4 separate regions of the Homo sapiens genome follow, and all the other regions are linked to region 3. Evidence: promoter capture Hi-C in 16 types of primary human blood cells and fetal thymus (Javierre and others, 2016). All regions are on one chromosome and are shown on one strand. Each heading gives the region's core, a stretch centred on a gene start or on the middle of the fragment in contact. The rest is flanking DNA. Distances are from core to core; before and after follow the strand shown. Region 1 overlaps LINC01494 (long intergenic non-protein coding RNA 1494). Region 2 overlaps WNT6 (Wnt family member 6). Region 3 holds the start of ATG9A (autophagy related 9A). Region 4 overlaps TTLL4 (tubulin tyrosine ligase like 4).

Region 1 (2,700 bases), core at 49-2,548, 330 kb before region 3:
GTCTCGCTCTGTCACCCAAGCTGGAATGCAGTGGTGTGATTTCAGCTTACTGCAACCTCTGCCTCCTGGGTTCAAGCAATTCTCCTGCCTTAGCCTCCTGAGTAGCTGGTATTACAGGTGTGCACCACCATGCCGGGCTAATTTTTGTATTTTAGTAGAGACAGGGTTTCGCCATGTTGGCCAGGCAGGTCTTGAATTCCTGACCTCAGGTGATCCACCCATCTTGGCCTCCCAAAGTGCTGGGATTACAGGTGTGAGCCACCACACCTGGTCTCCTGTGATCTTTCTTGAAGTTCCAGCTGCCAGCTAGACATGTTTTAATGTATGCCTGTGATACCACCCACTCAAGCTTTATTTTATTTTATTTTATTTTTGAGACAGAGTCCTGCTCTGTCACCCAGGCTGGAGTGCAATGGCGCCATCTCAGCTCACAGCAACCTCTGACTCCTCTGCCTCCCAGGTTCAAGCAATTCTCCTGCATCAGCCTCCTGAGTGGCTGGGATTACAGGTGGCCTGCCACCACGCCCAGCTCATTTTTTGTATTTTTAGTAGAGATGGGGTTTCACTATGTTGGCCAGGCTGGTCTTGAACTTCTGACCCCAAGTGATCCACCTACCTCAGCCTCCCAAAGTGCTGGGATTACAGGCGTGAGCCACCATGCCCGGCTCAAGCTTTATTAATGCAGATTCATTATCTTATGTATGTATTTGCTAAGGGCTGAGACTTTGTTTTGTTTACTGTTCTTTTCTCAATGCCTAGCACAGTGCTTGGCATAGACCAGGCATTTAATATTTGTTGAATAAGTGAATGAATGACTTTCCCCTCCAAACCAGTTCTCCTTAACTTGCTTGTTTCTCTTTGTCACATCATCATTTTCTTAGTCACTGAACCTCAAAACTGGTGTAAACTTGGACTCTCACCTTCTCTTCTCCTTTCTATATTCAATCAGTGGCCAAGATCTGCTTATTCTTCCACTTCATTCACATGGTCAATATCCTAGTTCACCACACACCTCAAACATCACAACGACCTTCCAACTAGCCTCTGTCATTCCTCTTTCTTCCTCTTCAATCCATCCCTATCCTATTGTTCTGTTTTTCTCTCCCACGAAGTGCTCTGATCATGTCATTTCCTCTGACTAAAGCTCTCAATGGATCTTTGTACCAATTTGGGTTCTTAATTGCAAACAACAGAAACAGACTCTGGTTCACTTAGTAGAAGAGGAATTTACTGGGATGACATCAGGGAACTCAAAGAATTGACAGGAAGCCTCAAGAATCAGGCTCAGGAAGCAAGCAGGAGCCAAGAGAAGCTAGGCAGCTAGAACTTTAGCTAAATCCTGTCCCAAGTGCAGCCTGATTAAGGGGCTTGGGGGCTGCTTCCCACATGGCTACCACCACCCTGAGCACTTGCTGCTGCCACCTCTGGGATGAATTATAAACAGTCCTCTTCCTCCTTGGGTCACTTGTTGAAGATTTAGAGTCCTGACTGGGAGCATTGATTTGGCTGTGATCTTCCTGCTAGGGGCCAGGTGAGCAAGTATCTGACTTCTCACTAAGACTCACATTAGGGAGGCTCCACCAACATATGAAGGGGGCTCAGATGCTGGGCAGCTAAAGACTCCAGTGTGTATCCATATGCAGGTTCCTGAGCATTGAAGCCCTCCACCATATGCCACAAACGATCATCTCCAGTTTTTTCTCACTTCCACACCATGTTCCACTGAAGCATGACTGTGTGCAGTTCCCTGAGCAGTCCTTTCCTGCCTCAGCCCCTGTAATAGCTGGGCCCCAAAGGTGGTCCGCCTTGAATCATGCTTCACACCTGTGTATTGTCCCCTCCCCTTGAAAGGGCCAGTCCATGCTTCCTTTTCACTGAGTGTGCTGTGGAAGCGAAGCTGCATGACTGCTGAAGAGAGGGAATAGGAAGCTTTGCAGTTTTTGCCTCAGTCGCTCGGAATGTTCACTCTGGGGCAAGCCAATCACCGTGTATGAGGTCTGTCTACCCAGAGACTACCATGCTATGAGGAACCCGAAACAAGCCACATGGGAAGGCTGTATAGAGAGAGTAATGCCTGGGCAGGCCCCTTCAGTTCCAGCCAATTCAGATGAGGTGCCAGACATGTGACTTTAAAAAGTCATCTTGGGGCTGGGCTCAGTGGTTCACACCTGTAATCTCAGCACTTTGGGAGGCCGAGGCAGGCGGATAACTTGAGGCCAGGAGTTCAAGACCATCCTGGCCAACATGGCGAAACCCCATCTCTACTAAAAATACAAAAAATTAGCCAGACATAGTGGCACATGCCTGTAGTCCCAGCTTCTCGGGAGGCTGAGGCATGAGAATCACTTGAACCTGGGAGGTGGAGGTTGCAGTGAGTGAGATTGCGCCACTACAGTCCAGCCTGGGTGACGAAGTGAGGCTGTGTCTTCAAAAATAAATAAATAAATAAATAAATTTTTAAAAAGTCATCTTGGATATCCAGCCGAGTTGAGCCTTCAGATGACTCCAGCCTTAGCCACCATCTAACTGAACTGCTTGAGAGACCCCACGTGAGAACTGCCCAGCTGACTGTAGTCAACCCACAGGACTGTGGGATGTAAATGGTTATTTTTAAGCCACTGAATTTTGGAGCGGTTTGTTACTCAGTAATAGAAAATGGAAACAGCCCCTCTGTGGTCCATGTTTCCCTCTCTCTGGAAT
Region 2 (2,700 bases), core at 147-2,646, 360 kb before region 3:
CGTTAATGTGTGGGGGAGTGCGCACGGGCGGAAAGATGGGCTGCAAGCATGGATGGACATGTGGGAGGAGAGGTGTCCAGCCTCCAAGAAGGAGTCACGTGGGGGTCTGAGAAGGCCAGATGCTGGACGGTACAGCGGGCAGAATGGGGGAAGGGACACTCAGGGAATAGGACTGAGGGTCTTTAGTGACCCCAGGCAGAGAGGGCACAGCTTCAAGACAGGACAGGTGAAGCAAAGCTTGCAGTGGGTAGGAGGTCTGGATGCCTAGGCAGGGGCAGGAGAATAAAACAAAGGTGGGGATGAAAGACAGGATAGAAGCTAATGCAAGGTCTGGGGTTTTGGTACAGGGAAGCCAGGGGGAGTGAGAGAGGCCTAGAAAGAGTTAGAACAGGTCTGAGGGGCAATGGAAAAGAGCGAAGGACAAGGAACCAATCCTAGTGGAGGTTGGAGGGAGTCAGGTGGAGGCCAGGACAGCTGTGACCAATTCTGGGCATTTGCCAACTGGCTGCCCAGCAACACCAGCCCAGGTCTCACCTGCCCAGAGCCATGGCAGCCTCTCCTCTCCCCTCTGTAACGAGGAGAGCCCCAGGAGCTCTCATTCAGGGGCAAGAAGGTTGTCTGGGTGTGATGGTTCCAGGAGGGGGCAGGGCAGACTCAGGAGGTGGGAGTGGGACACATGGTCAGGTTAGCCCCTGGACTCTGAGCTTCCAGAAATGATTTTCTTGGGTCTTCTGAACCATCAGCGCTTGGTGGGTTTGGGAATCTTAGACCCTGCTTCAGACAGTGACTAGGGGAGAGGCCGCCTGGGTTCCACTCTCAGTACTGCATTCCCAGCGGGCCCTCCTGCACCCCATGCCTCCGTTCTAGCGTTCTCCAGGGACATCGCCATACATACCGTGTCCTCTAGGGTTCGGGCCTGAGGCATCGGGCAGGGGGAGGAGGGGGCCTGAAGAGGAATGTCCGGACAGGCCCACATACCTGCCGAGAGGGTTGGGGAGGGGTGACGGAGACAGATGCCCAGGAGGCTGGCTCTGCGTCTGTGCTCAGCCCGGCCTGGGGGCCGTGAGGGGTAGGAATGAGGGGGCCAGGTAGGCAGGAGAGCTAGACTTCGACAGCTGCCACCTCTCCCCTCCTCCAAAGAGAATCTCACCCCTGCTGTCCATTCTGCTTTCTCCCCCACCCCCTGCCTTTGGACCCTGGAATCTCTGCGCTGCATATTGTCCCCGTCTCCCCTCTTCGTCATCATCATATTCCTCCATCCTCACCATTCCTCCTGCTCCTCCCCTCCGAGTTGTCCTTTCCTTGATTTCCTCCCCCTGAACTTGCGGTCTCCTTTTGTCTGCATTTTCCTCTCTTCCTTTCACCTCCCATTCCCAATCTTATTTTCTGTCCATCCGCTGGGCCCTTCCCTGCACCCCCTACCTGTCCACATGCGTCCGCCCCTCTGCCTCCCGCAGGCCGTGCGGAGCCACACGCGCACCGAGTGCAAATGCCACGGGCTGTCGGGATCATGCGCGCTGCGCACCTGCTGGCAGAAGCTGCCTCCATTTCGCGAGGTGGGCGCGCGGCTGCTGGAGCGCTTCCACGGCGCCTCACGCGTCATGGGCACCAACGACGGCAAGGCCCTGCTGCCCGCCGTCCGCACGCTCAAGCCGCCGGGCCGAGCGGACCTCCTCTACGCCGCCGATTCGCCCGACTTCTGCGCCCCCAACCGACGCACCGGCTCCCCCGGCACGCGCGGTCGCGCCTGCAATAGCAGCGCCCCGGACCTCAGCGGCTGCGACCTGCTGTGCTGCGGCCGCGGGCACCGCCAGGAGAGCGTGCAGCTCGAAGAGAACTGCCTGTGCCGCTTCCACTGGTGCTGCGTAGTACAGTGCCACCGCTGCCGTGTGCGCAAGGAGCTCAGCCTCTGCCTGTGACCCGCCGCCCGGCCGCTAGACTGACTTCGCGCAGCGGTGGCTCGCACCTGTGGGACCTCAGGGCACCGGCACCGGGCGCCTCTCGCCGCTCGAGCCCAGCCTCTCCCTGCCAAAGCCCAACTCCCAGGGCTCTGGAAATGGTGAGGCGAGGGGCTTGAGAGGAACGCCCACCCACGAAGGCCCAGGGCGCCAGACGGCCCCGAAAAGGCGCTCGGGGAGCGTTTAAAGGACACTGTACAGGCCCTCCCTCCCCTTGGCCTCTAGGAGGAAACAGTTTTTTAGACTGGAAAAAAGCCAGTCTAAAGGCCTCTGGATACTGGGCTCCCCAGAACTGCTGGCCACAGGATGGTGGGTGAGGTTAGTATCAATAAAGATATTTAAACCACCAGGGCTGGACCCACAGTTTTGGGGGAGACTGATCTTCAGGCTGCCAGGCTCCAGAAGAAGGTGGTTTTGCTAGAACTAGCACCTCAGGGGCTATCACCTGGGTCCCTATCTCCCGACCAGGTTGGCCTCTCCTGGAAACTCGCTATCTCCCCTTGGCATTCTTCTTGTTCACTCCTGTCACACATCTAGGTCCTGGATCTGCAAGCTGGAGAAGAACTAGCAATTCCTCTTTAAAGGGACAGGGGCATCAGAAGCTTCTGATGCATACCTCTTGACACCCAACAATATTTCCTTCCTTCTGGTTCCTCTTGGGAAGCTACTGGTGAAAGTGAGGAGACAGAGGGCAGTTCTGGATTCTCCAGAGCTGAAGCTTGAGCTCTCATCTTCCTCCAGA
Region 3 (2,700 bases), core at 157-2,656:
CTTAACTCTGGCCAGTCTGGGTGTCTACTGCTGCTTTCCTGGCCCAAAGCCAGAATCTGTCCCTTTGTTGGGGGCTGTTTCATCTTCTATTTAACGGACAGAAGAGTCCCTCCCCCGCCCATCCTGGGAACCCTGGTCTCCCAAGAGACTAACAGTTTGGAAGCACTTCACAAACAAATGTTTGAGAAAAGCACATGGCCCTACCAGCTCCATGGACAGTATGTGCTCCTCTCCAGCCCTCGATGCTCTGCAGCTGCTGGAGGAGAAGATGTCAGGCCCCAGAGAGTGGGCAGTGGGGATAAAAAGGAACCCAACCCTCCCAGCCATCCACACCCCACCAAGAGGAGGCCAAGCATGGGGCAGGAAGGCTGCAGTGGGGAAGAAGCACCCTTCCAGCCCAGGACTACGAGCACTTCCTCTGGCTGTGCTAAACCGGGCCACTCTTCCAACTCCAGGGTCTCAAGAAGTAACTTAGGGACCCCATGGAGAATGAGTGGGTACAGACCTGAGGCCAGGGGCGCCTCTGGACTATTTCTCCATTGCCCTACCTTAGCCTCAGAAATGACATACTTCTCAGGGTCCACAAAACCTCAAGAGTCTTTCCTGAAGAGGACCTTTCTGGTCAACCCCTTCTCTTACTTCCCTAGCACCAAAGATCCAGCCGGTGAGCAAACCTTCTGGATGGGAAACCTTGACTGGGTCAGTGTAGACCCCCGATCCTAGGTGAATTTGTGGGTTCCCTAGGTCCTGTAAGCCAGGCATGGTCGAGGTGGTACTCACCTGTCCGTGCAGCCCCTGGGGGCCGTGGATCTTGGCCCAGCCTGGCCCCGGTGGGATTCCCTGGGCTAGTGAGAGCCCTGCCCCTCAGGGAAGTCACCACTCACAGGGTCAGTGTGGACCAGGGCCCGTGGAGCCCCGGCCGGCTGGGCCTGGGCTCAGGGGTTCCTGCGGATGTTGCAGGGATCGAGTCAGCCTTACAGCTGATAGCCCGGGTGGGTTGGCTTGCCTCCCCACACCCAGCCGCGGCGACCGTGGACCGGAGTCCACCTCGCCCCAGGGTCGCCCGGCCCCAGGCCAAGGGCTGGCAGCTCCCAACAGCGGACAACCTCGCGCGCGGCCCCGGCGCCCGCGCGCGCCCCCGTCTGCGCGCGCCAGCAATCAAAACATTCCGGCTGCGCGCCCCCGCCCCGCCGGCGGCGCCCCTTCCTCCGTTACCCGCCGCGAGCTCACTTAGGGCTCCGCAGGCACCCCTGGGCAAGGCCAGACACGGGGCCTGGGATTCCAATAACCGGTCTCACGTCTTACCTCAGGAACAGCGACCCGGGTGATTCCAGAGGCTCCGCCGGCTCCGCTCGGCTCGGCTCGGCTCGGCGCGACCCGCGGCGCTAGGCCGGGTGTCTGCCACTCACTGTCACCCGCAGCCAGGCTGGCCAATAAGCACGGGGGGCGGAGACACAACGGCCAATTCTCGGCTTCAGGGACGGGACTAAAGTCTCGAGGCGGGTCTTGGACAGTCAGCGGCCCAATAGTGTGCTCTACGTGGGGCGGGGCTCAGGTGCGGACGCCGCCGGTTGTCCTCTTCGCTGCTCCGTAGTGACGGGGATTGTTGTGTTGCAGAAATCCGGCAATCGACCTGAGGACTTGCGAGCCGCTCAGCTCCCGGGACGTTTGGTGCGTCTTCTAAGGGCGTGGGCGAGTTTACGCGGGCCAGTTGTTGCTGGTCGCATGGGTAACGAAGAAAGTTCGGCTAGGCAAGCTCAGTGATTTTTAACTCTGTTGGACTCGATTTGGGAGCCGAATGCCTATTTCATTCTTTTGTGGGCTGAGACTGGGGGTTTGAGAAAGTGGACGGGGGCCAAGGTATTCATCTCACAGTTGGTAGCAGGATGAGAGACGAGAAGTCTTGCGGTGCAGGAGAAACCAAGTCAGGCAGGCAGGAGACGCAGCAGTAGGATCTCGTTTGCAGGAGCCCTGTTTCTTACACGCTTTCTACTCCAGGAGCTGCTGCTAAATAATTTCTGCTCAGCCATGTCGCCGGCTCCAGATGCAGCCCCGGCTCCTGCGTCGATCTCCCTGTTTGACCTCAGCGCGGATGCTCCGGTCTTTCAGGGCCTGAGCCTGGTGAGCCACGCGCCTGGGGAGGCTCTGGCCCGGGCTCCGCGTACTTCCTGTTCAGGTATCCTGGAAGGTTTCGTGTGAAACGTGACAGGGCTCCTTACAGCGTATTGCCCGTTCAGGGAACACATTCTTATTGGTATTCCCGAGCTTAGGAGGCCAATTGATTTATCTTTCTGCTTGATTAAATTCACTTAATCTCTGGGTAATGTCCAGCACAGCCCTTGTTTTCAAACAAGTCTTTTTGCCATTGCATGTATCTCCTCACGTTAACACCATTCCCTTCAAAAACACTTTAAACTTTGTAGAGATAAAATTCTCAGATGTATTCCACATTTAACCAGGCCCCACTCAAATTATTCCTTTTTGCTGAATATGAAACAATTTATTATTTGTTTCGTATAGCTTTATTTTTTGAGAGTCTCGCTCTGTCGCCCAGGCTAAAGTGCAGTGGCACGATCTCCACCCACTGCAATCTCCGTCTCCCGGGTTCAAGTGATTCTCCTGCCTCAGCCTCCCGAGTAGCTGGGACTACAGGCCCGCACCACCATGCCCGGCTAATTATTGTATTTTTAGTAGAGACGG
Region 4 (2,700 bases), core at 189-2,688, 510 kb before region 3:
GCAATATTGCTAATAGGAGGCCAAACTGGACCAGGGTTCTTCCCACCCCCTTCTGCCAGCGTGGCTCTGTATTTGAGGTTAAAGATCCCCAGAGATTTCCTATAAAAGCCATCATGAAGCTTATAGGGCATATCACTAGGGTAAGTGAACAGTGGTGTGAGATAGCCTTGGGAAAGTATCACGTGAGAGGGACACACAACAGGTGCTCGTGGAGAGGGTGGGTCTTGAGCTGGGTCTGGAAAAGGTAAATAAAATATGGTAAGGATTCACAAGGAAGAAGCTTAGTGGAGTAAAGCCCTGCAGACAGGCATTTGAAAGGTTTATTCCAGGAATTTAGTGTAAGACCAGCGCAGTTCACATAACAGAGTTCAAGGTAGGAGGAAATGGAAATAAGCCTTAAAAAAAAAAAAAAAAAGATTAAGGGTCGACTATGGAGTCTTGTGGACCAAAGCTAAGAAATCTCACATGACAGTCATCTGGAATGCTTGTTAAAACTGCAGACTCATGGCCCTACTCCACACCAACTGAATCCTCTTGAAGGTGAATCTCAGGACTTTGCATCTCAGGTTATTCTGATGCAGGTGGGCCACCACAGTGTTTAGTAAGTGCTCATGGACCGTTTTTGAAAAGGGATTGACCTGATGAAGCAATACAGCAAAATTAATCTGGAGGTTGCCTGCAGGGTGGAATTAGGAAGGGCACACCTTGGAGACACATGCTTCAGTCAGTGCTGTTGCAGTAAGTCCAGATCTAGGGGCATGGTGGAAATAATAAAAGGAGGAAGAATGCTAAGTAGACAGAGTGTCTTAAATTTCATGACTGGTTTCCCTTTGGGGAAATAAAGTAAAGGAAAAAGTCAGAAATAACTTAGTTTTCCTCTTAGGTGATTTGGAGAAAGAAGGGTCCACTCAAGGAAATGGGACGATCAGGAGTGGAGAGCTAGTTTGACACACTAGATTGAAGTGGTTGGACATGCATTTGGAAAGGTGGAACAGGCAGTTGGTGATGCAGACATGAAACTTGAGACGACAAATCTGCAAAATGACTCTTCTGCAGATAATAGTTGACATTGTGAGAGAGATTGATTTGATGTGGGGGAGGATGAAAGAACTGGAGGATTTTGGATTGGCCTCAGGAGGAGGAAAGACACTATTGAAGGGGTTGGGTACAGCTGTGGCAGAGTGCACGCACTGAGTAAAAAATAGCAACAAGGAGATGGTGGTAAGAGGGGAACGCCTTTTTCATATGAATAGGTCCAACTCGTGGCTTTGCTGATGTGATATTGTGATATAATAAGAAATACTCCAGCCTGGTCAGCATGGTGAAACCCTGTCTCTACAAAAATACAAAAATTATCCGGGCACGATGGCGGGTGCCTGTAATCCCGGCTATTCGGGAGGCTGAGGCGGGAGAATTGCATGAACGCGGGAGGCAGAGGTTGCAGCGAGCCGAGATCGTACCATTGCACTCCAGCCTGGGCAACACAGTGAGACTCCGGTCTCAAAAAAAAAAAAAAAAAGAAAGAAATACATAATTGGGGTGTGCCCCTGGTTCCTGGCTCCTAAAACCTTCAGAACTTGTAAGTGATAAGTGTCTTTTTATATGCTAATGAGATGATTGATAGCTGGGGACTCCTGAATAGCCTCAAGATGGGAGGCTGATTGCCGAGAGAACCAACCATGTGATTAGAGGGTTGGAACTTTCAGTTCCATCCCCCACCTTCTGGGAAGGGGAGTGGAGCCAAAGATTGAGCTGACTACCAATGGCCAGTGATTTATTCAGTCATGCCTATTAATGAAACCTGCATAAAAACCCAAAAGGACAGGGTTTGGATTGTTGAGCACATGAATGTACCTGGCACTCCCGGTAACAGCACGGAAGCTCCAAGCCCTTTTCCCCATCCCTTGCCCTATGCATCATGTATCTCTTCCATGTGGCTGTTCATCTGTATCCTTTGTAATAAATAGGTAAATGTAAGTGAAGTGTTTCCCTGAGTTCTGTGAGTTGTTCTAACAAATTGATCAAACCCCATGGGGGGGTTTTGGGAACCTCAATTTACCCCCAATTAATTAATTAATTAATTAATTAAGAGGTGGGGTTCTGCCATGTGGCCCAGGCTAATTTTGAACTCCTGGGCTCAAGCGATTCGCCCCACCCAAGGTGTTGGGATTACAGGTGTGCGTCACCGCGCCTGGCCAGGGAACACCAATTTATAGCAAATCAATCAGAAGCACAGGTCACAACCTGTGCCTTGCAATTGGAATCTGAAGTGGAAGCAGCCTTGTGGTACTGAGCCCTTAACCTGTGAGATCTGATGCTATCTTTAGGTAAATAGTGTCAGAATTGAATTATAGGATATCCAGCTGGTGGCCTCTGGAGCATTCCTTGGTGTGTGTGCCTCACACATTTTGATGACCAGAGGTGAAATATTCTGTACTGTGTTAAGAGTGACTATGTAAGGGAGTGAAAAAAGTTTTTTCCCCCTTAGCTGGTCATAGCTGTTGTAGATGCATTTGTTTATTCAGCAAATATTTAATGAGCCCTGATTACCATTCTAGGGCTGGATACATAAGCTCTGTGAAAAAGTCCCTGTGCTCAAAGCTTTCATTCTGGAAGATAGACAGATAGCAAAGAAATGCATAAATAATTGAGGTTTTTATTTTAAAATAGCCAGGCCCAGTGGCTCATACCTGTAATCTC

Evidence for each region. Contacts are between HindIII fragments. The CHiCAGO score rates a contact against its expected background, and 5 or more counts as called.
Region 1: a fragment that was not itself captured here is called in contact with the fragment with the promoter of ATG9A in region 3 in 2 of 17 cell types (total B cells and naive B cells); the score reaches 6.0 in total B cells.
Region 2: a fragment that was not itself captured here is called in contact with the fragment with the promoter of ATG9A in region 3 in 1 of 17 cell types (activated CD4 T cells); the score reaches 5.0 in activated CD4 T cells.
Region 4: a contact is called between a fragment that was not itself captured here and the fragment with the promoter of ATG9A in region 3, in 1 of 17 cell types (erythroblasts). The highest score is 5.2, in erythroblasts.

Annotation. Positions count from the first base shown.
Region 1 is chr2:218,903,249-218,905,948 of GRCh38, forward strand. All of the region lies in intron 4 of LINC01494 (long intergenic non-protein coding RNA 1494), which reads right to left. Among named protein-coding and RNA genes, the nearest start is that of WNT10A, 24 kb to the left of the region's middle. The HindIII fragment of the contact is 1,258 bases long and covers 670-1,927 here.
Region 2 is chr2:218,871,927-218,874,626 of GRCh38, forward strand. It overlaps WNT6 (Wnt family member 6), which reads left to right. Exons shown (of 4, transcript NM_006522.4): 4 at 1,458-2,307. The coding sequence ends at 1,919. It also overlaps a transcript of WNT10A not described here. Among named protein-coding and RNA genes, the nearest start is that of WNT10A, 7.6 kb to the right of the region's middle. RefSeq lists an enhancer at 1-675. The HindIII fragment of the contact is 2,323 bases long and covers 236-2,558 here.
Region 3 is chr2:219,228,230-219,230,929 of GRCh38, forward strand. It overlaps ATG9A (autophagy related 9A), which reads right to left and starts at 1,407. Exons shown (of 16, transcript NM_001077198.3): 1 at 1,306-1,407; 2 at 205-256. It overlaps ANKZF1 (ankyrin repeat and zinc finger peptidyl tRNA hydrolase 1), which reads left to right and starts at 1,577. Exons shown (of 14, transcript NM_018089.3): 1 at 1,577-1,671; 2 at 1,999-2,176. The coding sequence starts at 2,029. RefSeq lists enhancers at 347-895, 896-1,443, 1,444-1,991, 1,662-1,771 and silencers at 1,122-1,171, 1,382-1,511. The HindIII fragment of the contact is 5,267 bases long and covers 1-2,700 here.
Region 4 is chr2:218,719,173-218,721,872 of GRCh38, forward strand. All of the region lies in intron 1 of TTLL4 (tubulin tyrosine ligase like 4), which reads left to right. Among named protein-coding and RNA genes, the nearest start is that of TTLL4, 9.7 kb to the left of the region's middle. RefSeq lists a silencer at 394-691. The HindIII fragment of the contact is 2,321 bases long and covers 279-2,599 here.